Regions from separate parts of the Homo sapiens genome. Here region 2 is linked to region 1. The links are contacts of gene promoters, found by promoter capture Hi-C in blood cells and fetal thymus (Javierre and others, 2016). All regions are on one chromosome and are shown on one strand. Each heading gives the region's core, a stretch centred on a gene start or on the middle of the fragment in contact. The rest is flanking DNA. Distances are from core to core; before and after follow the strand shown. Region 1 overlaps DAD1 (defender against cell death 1). Region 2 holds the start of OR10G2 (olfactory receptor family 10 subfamily G member 2).

Region 1 (4,687 bases), core at 1,015-3,514:
TGCTGTTTTGTGCTGGGCGCTTCTCTGACTGAGAGCATGGTTGTAGATACCTTCACTTTGTATTTTTTTTTAAATAGATAAACTTAAATAACACCTGTATACCTACAACTACTCCTTTATATTTTTAGTTTTGAACTGTCCCCCGAATTCCAAATTAGTAAATCCAGTTGCCAACTTGATGTCTTCACTTGATGTCTGATATGTACCTTGAACTTAACATGTCCAAGATCAAACCTGCTCATCCAGCCATCTGCCTCTTCACCAGTTAGTACGTGGTGTCAATGTTGGTTGTGGTTTTTTTTTTTTTTTTTTTGAGACATAGTCTCACTCTGTCACCCAGGCTGGAGTGCAGTGGCACAATCTCGGCTCACTGCAACCTCCATCTCCCGGGTTTAAGCAATTCTCCTGCCTCAGCCTCCTGAGTAGCTGGGATTACAGGCACGCTCCCCCATGCCCGGCTAATTTTTGTATTTTTAGTAGAGACGAGGTTTCGCCATGTTGGCCAGGCTGGTCACGAACTCCTGACCTCAGGTGATTCACCCACCTCGGCCTCCCAAAGTGCTGGGATTACAGGTGTGAGCCGCCATGCCCGGCCGGTTGTGTTTTTAAATGAAGAAATTTAAGTTTCCGGGGTCCCTTGATTTCTCTTATCTCCTGCATCTGTTTCATCAGCAAGCTCTGTCTTCTCCAAAATATAGCCTGTATGTCTTTATTTCTGTCCATTTTTACTACCATTCCCCTGAGCTCTTTGGGTCCTAAGTAATTCTTCTGCTTCTTTTTATTTTTTATATTTTTGAGACGGAGTCTCGCTCTGTTGCCCAGGCTGGAGTGCAGTGGCGCGATTTCGGCTCACTGCAAGCTCCGCCTCCCGGGTTCACGCCATTCTCCTGCCTCAGCCTCCCGAGTAGCTGGGACTACAGGCACCCGCCACAATGACCGGCTAATTTTTTTTTTTTTTTTGTATTTTTTAGTGGAGATGGGTCTCACCATGTTAGCCAGGATGGTCTCGATCTCCTGACCTTGTGATCCGCCCGCCTTGGCTTCCCAAAGTGCTGGGATTACAGGTGTGAGCCACTGCGCCTGGCCTATTTTTATTTTTATTTTTATTTTTTTGAGACGCAGTCTCACTGTGTCGCCAGGCTGGAGTGCAGTGGCGCGATCTCAGCTCACTGCAACCTCCGCCCTTGGAGTTCAAGCGATTCTTCTGCCTCAGCCTCCCTAGTAGCTGGGATTCCAGGAGCCTGCCACTGCACCCGGCTAATTTTTTGTATTTTATTTTTAGTAGAGATGGGGTTTCACCTTCTTGACCAGGCTGGTCTTGAATTCCTGACCTTGTGATCCACCCACCTCGGCCTCCCAAAGTGCTGGGATTACAGGCGTGAGCCACTGCGCCCGGCCTTCTGCCTCTTTTTAACCTTGCGAACCATTATACTGTTCCACCGCTCTTATAACTGAATCCGTACTGTTTTCTGAGGCTTACCATGCCCCTCAGGATTTGGCCCTTGTGTCCTTCCCCTTGATCACTATAGTCTTGTTGGTCTGTCCTTGATTTTTTTTTTTTTTTTTTTTTTTTTTGAGATGGAGTTTTGCTCTTGTTGCCCAGGCTGGAGTGCAATGGCACGATCTCGGCTTACTGCAACTTCCGCCTCCCGGGTTCAAGCGGTTCTTCTGCCTCAGCCTCCTGAGTAGCTGGGATTGCAGGCATGCACCACCAAGCCTGGCTAATTTTTTGTATTTTTAGTAGAGACGGGGTTTCTCCATGTTGGTCAGGCTGGTCTCGAACTCCCGACCTCAGGTTATCCACCCGCCTCGACCTCCCAAAGTGCTGGGATTACGGGTGTGAGCCACCATGCCTGGCGTCTGTCCTTGTGTTTATAACATGTCAAGATTGTTCTTACTGTCTAGAATGCTCTGCCCCCAGATTTTTACATGGTTGGTTCCTTATCTTTCAAATATTGGTCTTAAATAGCAAGCTCTTAAAGAGACCTTCTGTTATGATTGAATTTAAGAAAAGCTTCCCAGTCACTCTTTATTATCCTGTTTTATTTTCTTCATAGTACATATCTCTACCTAGTAGTTCCTGGTTTATTTGTTAACTTATTGATTATATGTTTCTCTCCATAGGAGTGTAAGTTCCTTGAGAGCCAGACTGTTTTGTTCTGTGCCATATTCCTAGCACCTGAAATGATGCTTGTCATGTAGTAGATGTTTAGTAAATATTTTATGGAATAAATGGACATTTAAGGGGATAGAGTAAATCAGAATTGCTAAAATGGAACAGACTGCTTGAAGAGGTAGTAAATTTCCATCTTTGGAAGTGCCCAGGGAGAGACTGAAGGATCATTGGTAGTGGAGCATTTTGAACAGGCTTTTTTTTTTGCCTTTTTTGTTTCCAATGCATCTGAGAGATGTGATATCCTTATCAGTAACACAGGCTCTGGAAAGTTGATAATTCTCCATCTGGAGGTGGCTTACCAGATTCTGTAAGTGGTGAGTATACTTTGGAAAGCTTCCCACGTGATTAGTACGCCTCCCCAAGCATGGCCACCCCCTACCACCTCTTGGGCATTGTATACATCAAATGGGGTGTTGGTGTTTATGACCTCTGAGGTCCTTTCCAACTTTGTGGGACTCTGATTCATATGTTTTCATTGAAATAATCTGGTTACCATGATCACAATAATAATAACATCAATTTATTACCTTATCCACCTTCATGGATAATTTTTCTTTTTTTCCCTCATATTTCCTCAAAACTCAACACCGTGTTCTTTACTCCAATGACCACTATTAATAGTTTTCTATTTCTTCAGATTTTTTTCTAGATTCTAACTGAAATGACAAGATAATTATGTATATCATTATATGTAAATAAAATATTTTACTTTTTTTTTGAGACGGTCTTGATTTGTCTCCCAGGCCAGAGTGCGGTGGCATGACTGTGGCTCACTGCAGCCTGCAACCTCTACCTCCTGGGCTCAAGCAATCTTCCCATCTCAGCCTCCCGAGTAGCTGGGGCCATAGGTGTGTGCTACCACACCTGGCTAATTAAAACATTTTTTTTGTAGAGACAGGGTCTCCCTATCTTTCCCAGGCTGGTCTCAAGCTCTTGGGCTCAAGCGATCCTCCCACCTTGGTTTCACAACATGCTGGGGTTACAGTTGTGAGCCACCATGCCCTGGCCAAGTGAAATTAGGAATGGGCTGGGTGTGGGGGCTCATGTCTGTAATCCCTACCCTTAGGCAAGCAGAGGCGGGAGGATTGCTGGGCAACATAGGGAGACCTTGTCTTTACCAAAAACAAACAAAAAAATTAGCTAGGCATGGTGGTGCATGACTGTTGTCTCAGCTACTCAGGGGGCTGAGGTGGGAGGATTGTTTGAGCCCAGGAGGTCGAGGCTGCAGGGAGCCATGATTGCACCACTGCACTCCAGCCTGGGTGATGGAGTGAGACCCTGTCTCAAAAAAAAAAAAAAAAAGGATTGGCTTTTTTTCACTTAATAAGTCTTAGATATGTTTGCTGTCAATGTACAGAGAATTTACCTTATTCTTTTGAATAATTGCATGGGATTTCATTGCATGTCAGTTGTATAGTTTAATCCCCTTGATGTTTAGACTGTTTTAATTTTTTTTTCAACTTTACAAACATACTTTCAGAATGTCTTTGTTCTGTAAGATAAATTCCTTTGTCAAAAGGTAAAATCATTTTAAATATTAATGGATATTGCTAGTTGCTCTCCCAAGTGGATGAATGAATCTGTACTTTCTACAGCAGGGGTTTACACTGGTTACCCTTGCTTCAGTCATTGTCTTTAATATTTTTAAGGGTCTGGATACCTGAAAGGATCAATGGTGCTTCCATGGTGTTTACATGTTTAAGCATAATGAAAACTGTTGCCATGGTGACAGGCTCTGGAGAACTAGTCTGATAGTTTTCTGGCCTTTGGATTAGATTTGTTTGTTGCTTTTTCTTAGTTAATGATGGGATGATGCTAGCCTGAAGCGAGTTTAGGTTTTCTTAAGCAATGTAATAATTTATCACAGGCATAAAGATACTTCGGAAGAGTGTATTCCTGGAACTGCCTGTTTTTTTTTTTTTGTCAATGGTGACTGTTAGAATCTTCAAGGGGATGGAGTGTGGCAGTGGAGAGTTCTCATGAGTTATCTCTCTTAGGTCTTCTGCCTTTTTTGAGACAAATAAGCAGCTGCTAGAACTTCGAGATCAAAGATAGTTTATCGAGAACTGTGAGGTTCTCAAGAATGAGCGTGCTATCTTTATAAACTCTGCTACCCATTAAATGAATATTCTATTAGAAAATAATTCACATTTTTATAACTTTTTATCATTCAGCCCGGACCCTTTGTTGTTGCCTCAAGTGCATCCCCATCTAGGTATAATTAGAAACCTTTAAATCAGCAGATAAGAGAGCTTTGTGGGTTTTTTGGTTATATATTTTTTTCTTTGAGAAAGCCTCTAGGTTTCAGTGTAACTCTGAGAAGTAATATTTTTTTTCCTTTAACAGAGTGCGAAATTTAATTGTACAACTTGATAAATTTTTAAATGTACCTGTCTAACCACTATCCAGATCAAGATGCAGGACATTACCAGCACCATAGATGCCTCCTTGCATCTTCCCAGTTATCCTCTCCCTGTGAAAGATAAAAACCACTATCTTGCCATAGATTGG
Region 2 (4,687 bases), core at 1,245-3,744, 950 kb after region 1:
GCGCACCTGTAGTCGCAGCTACTTGGGAGGCTGAGGCAGGAGAATCACTTGAATCTGGGAGGCAGAGGTTGCAGTGAGCCGAGATCAGGCCACTGTACTCCAGCCTGGGCAACAGAGCAAGACTCAATCACACAAAAAAAAAGAAAGAAAAGAAAATTACTTTTAGCTCATAATAAGTATATATATATATATATATGTATATGTATATATATTTTTTTAAGAGATGGAGTCTCGCTCTGTGACCCAGGCTGGAGTGCAGTGGCGCAATCTTGGCTCACTGCAACCTCCGCCTCCCGGGTTCACGCCATTCTCCTGCCTCAGCATCCCGAGTAGCTGGGACTACAGGCGCCCACCACCACACCCAGCTAATTTTTGTATTTTTAGTAGAGACGGGGTTTCACCGTGTTAGCCAGGATGGTCTCAATCTCCTGACCTCGTGATCCACCCACCTTGGCCTCCCAAAGTGCTGGGATTACAGGCATGAGCCACCGCGCCTGGCCATAATTAGTATTTTATGCACCATTTTAATCTCAACTCTTTCTATCTTTGCTCTATATTCATTTTTTTTTTTTCTTTTTGAGACAGAGTCTCTCTCTGTCACCAGGCTGGAGTGCAGTGGTGCGATCTCCACTCACTGCAACTTCCGCCTCCCGGGTTCAAGAGATTCTCCTGCCTCAGCCTCCCGAGTAGCTGGGACTACAGGCGCCCGACACCACACCCAGCTAATTTTTTTGTATTTTTAGTAGAGACAGGGTTTCACCATGTTGGTCAGGGTGGTCTCCATCTCTTGACCTCATGATCTGCCTGCCTCGGCCTCCCAAAGTGCTGGGATTACAGACGTGAGCCACCACGCCCAGCCTCTTTTCTCTATATTCTAACCACAAAAATAAGATTTAGTTTTCCCATCCATTTTCAAATAAATCAAAGTGTCCTCCTGAAACTCAGGCAATAAAAATCTGATATTTCTTCGTTCTTGGTGGGCAAAGGACAAGTTTAACATTTTCCAGACTTCGAAGAGCCAGATATATTCAGTATTATTATTATTACTACTAATAACTCTTGAATGTTAACATATGAATTAAGTTATTTCACAGAATACTTAAGATAAAATCTCTTTGGAGAATTTCCGATAGAGATTAAACTTATTAATATTCACATGTTATTTATAATAATCTATTGTCATTTTAATTGCTTTATGAAAGTAGTCATTTGCATTACAAAGATATTTTGTAGTTAAATGAAAGATAAATGCATCTCAAACCATATATAGAGCGAAAAGTCTTTATCAAGCAACCTATTTAACAAAAAGAGTGAAACAAACACATTCCATCCCTCTATTTTATCATCTTGTTCAGATACTTGAAAATCTGTAAATGTCTTTAGAGAGAGTTGCTGTTTGATAGACTGCAATACATAGATATTACACACAAGCACACTAAAGATCAAGTCCTGCATTAATCAATGATTTTATAACAAACAATAAAAATTCCTCTGTGACCTCATACCAAAAAAAAAACCCAATCCCAAACCAATGAACCATATAAATCAACAAATAAATCTAAATGATATCCTGGAGCAAAAACAGGCATAAATGTTTCTTGGAGTTTTTTATAATGAAATTATACCCATATTACATGGTGAATGAGGTGGTCCCTTGACCTAAAAGTCCCAGCCATGTGAGCACAGGGGTCAGACAAAAAAGATCAAGAGAAACAATGTATTCAGTCAGGGGGATTTGGCAACATCCATTCTATCTATCTCAGTCATTCAGAAAATAATTACGGTATTTATCACTTTTAGCATGCTAGACGGGATGATTATTAAGAGAGAAAAACAGAAATTAGACAATGCAACATAATGTACGTGCTCAGAAAAGTATAAGCATTGTCCTCAGGGATCCGGAAAGCCTTCTTGAAGGTGAAGACACTCAAACTGAATCCTGAAGGAAAAGTGGGCACTACCTATGTGAAGGGAGCAGAAAAGATAGTGTGTGCGTAAGTCCCAAGTTAGAGCACACTACTGTGAGAAGCTTGAAGAGTGTCATGCCTCCCAACAATAAGAAGGAATTACAAGTGGTACAATAGCGATATAAATAAGGGCCAGATGAGGAATATTTTTGCATGATATGTTAAGGAGATGAGATTTTAGCTGAGGAAAAAGGGGACAATGATAGTAGGTGAAGAAAAAGTAGATGTGGTCATTATAGGGTGTTTGTTCCACACTGCTCTGCATCAACTTTAGCCCCTCCTTGGCGAACTCACTTTTTGGTTGGAATTTTCGGTACTTCTCTATCACTCTCATGTGTCCCTCTTCCTTCATCTGGCAAATCCTGGCTTTCAGTATCTCTCAATGGACAAGAGTTTCCTCCCATCTAGGAAACTAACCAGCCTCTGGAGGACTTCTCCTTTTAAGTAAACCTAAATAACTAATGGTGACACCACCTCCTCTTTTAAAAAACAATTTGACTCTATCTTGTTTATCTCATAATTCCTAGGCATCAATCATCCGACAAAAGCATTCACTTACAACATCATTGTGCTGTGTTTCTCTTGTCAAACGTCACCATTCATCTTAGCAGACTACAAAAAGACATGGGAAAGACCAAAAACACATCGCTGGATGCCGTGGTGACAGATTTCATTCTTCTGGGTTTGTCTCACCCCCCAAATCTAAGAAGCCTCCTCTTCCTGGTCTTCTTCATCATTTACATCCTCACTCAGCTGGGGAACCTGCTCATTCTGCTCACCATGTGGGCTGACCCGAAGCTCTGTGCTCGCCCCATGTACATTCTTCTGGGAGTGCTCTCATTCCTGGACATGTGGCTCTCCTCAGTCACCGTTCCTCTGCTTATTTTGGATTTTACTCCTTCCATCAAGGCTATCCCGTTTGGTGGCTGTGTGGCTCAACTGTATTTCTTTCACTTCCTGGGCAGCACCCAGTGCTTCCTCTACACCTTGATGGCCTATGACAGGTACCTGGCAATATGTCAGCCCCTGCGCTACCCAGTGCTCATGAATGGGAGGTTATGCACAGTCCTTGTGGCTGGAGCTTGGGTCGCCGGCTCCATGCATGGGTCTATCCAGGCCACCTTGACCTTCCGCCTGCCCTACTGTGGGCCCAATCAGGTGGATTACTTTATCTGTGACATCCCCGCAGTATTGAGACTGGCCTGTGCTGACACAACTGTCAATGAGCTTGTGACCTTTGTGGACGTCGGGGTAGTGGCCGCCAGTTGCTTCATGTTAATTCTGCTCTCGTATGCCAACATAGTAAATGCCATCCTGAAGATACGCACCACTGATGGGAGGCGCCGGGCCTTCTCCACCTGTGGCTCCCACCTAATCGTGGTCACAGTCTACTATGTCCCCTGTATTTTCATCTACCTTAGGGCTGGCTCCAAAGACCCCCTGGATGGGGCAGCGGCTGTGTTTTACACTGTTGTCACTCCATTACTGAACCCCCTCATCTATACACTGAGGAACCAGGAAGTGAAGTCTGCCCTGAAGAGGATAACAGCAGGTTGAAGGACTGAATGAAAATAAGTAACTACATCTGCATCATTATCACTGCCACTCTCTTCAGCTACTGCTGCATGTGACAAATGCCCAATAAACTGCTAAGGATTTAAAGTGAATTTATTTTCATTTTCTTTGGCAGAAAATTCTGAATTATTTCGACCCAAAATCTTTTCCCCTAATTAAACTGGTTCAGGTTGTTTTACATAATCTTTTAGAAATAAATGGATACATTATTTCTATCACCTCTATCTTGTGAGATGAGAAAATGCCTTACCAAAGGTTGAATAAGATGAGAATGTGTCAATGTCTTAGAAAGTATATCATGCCAGAAAATTTGAAAAGAGTAAAAAGGGGGCTCCATAACCCCTTGTTTCATTGTCTTTGCTCCTAATCCTAGACCCCTCTAAATTCCATTTCTTTGCTTGTGCATGGCATGAATATTTCCAAGCACTTGAACTTGAAAATTCTGGATTATTTGTGTTTTCTTCCTGTCCCTCGCCCTCGTGATGTGCTAACACATCAGATTCTGTCTCCTCAAAACTATGAAACCAGCTCAAACTGATTCAGTGTAGACTGTCTCTCTTAATTCTTGACTAGTTCTTCCTCATCTAGACCACAATCAAAATTACCCTCTGAAACACAGAATCTGTAGGACTCTTCGGCGAAGGTAGAATGAATAAGGCCAGGCTCCTTAATCTGGAATTCAAAATCCAATGCAATCTTGGCTTCACATACATGTTCTCTTAAGCCATTTCCTCTGCTTCCCTCTCCCACCCTCACTGATTTATTGCCGTTCCGTGAGCATGCTCTATACTTGCCTGTACTCTTTTGCTCAAGCTCTCTTCTCTGCCTGGAATATAAGTCCTCCCTCTCCATATTGACCAAGTGACAATTTATGCTTCCTTCAGATCCATATTAAATACTTCCTCATCTGTTTTTCCCAGGCAGGACTTAACTCCTCTTCCCTGGTATTGCCATGGCTTCTTTAGTATAGACCTTGCCCCAGTCTGTCACGTATTACAGTCAAGAATTTATCTCCTACCGGGCGCAGTGGCTCACGCCTGTAATCCCAGCACTTTGAGAGGCCGAGGTGGGCAGATCACGAAGTCAGGAGTTCAAGACCAGCCTGGCCAACATAGTGAAACCCCCATCTCTACTAAAAATATAAA

What was found. The method cuts DNA at HindIII sites, captures the fragments that hold promoters and counts their contacts. A CHiCAGO score of 5 or more calls a contact.
Region 2: a contact is called between the fragment with the promoter of OR10G2 here and a fragment that was not itself captured in region 1, in 1 of 17 cell types (total CD8 T cells). The highest score is 5.9, in total CD8 T cells.

Annotation. Positions count from the first base shown.
Region 1 is chr14:22,578,632-22,583,318 of GRCh38, reverse strand. The region is part of intron 1 of DAD1 (defender against cell death 1); the gene reads left to right. Among named protein-coding and RNA genes, the nearest start is that of DAD1, 8.2 kb to the left of the region's middle. RefSeq lists an enhancer at 523-1,024 and a silencer at 2,900-3,062. The HindIII fragment of the contact is 495 bases long and covers 2,017-2,511 here.
Region 2 is chr14:21,632,747-21,637,433 of GRCh38, reverse strand. OR10G2 (olfactory receptor family 10 subfamily G member 2) reads left to right here and starts at 2,494. Exons shown (of 1, transcript NM_001005466.2): 1 at 2,494-3,598. The coding sequence starts at 2,592. The coding sequence ends at 3,524. It also overlaps TRA. The HindIII fragment of the contact is 5,968 bases long and covers 2,032-4,687 here.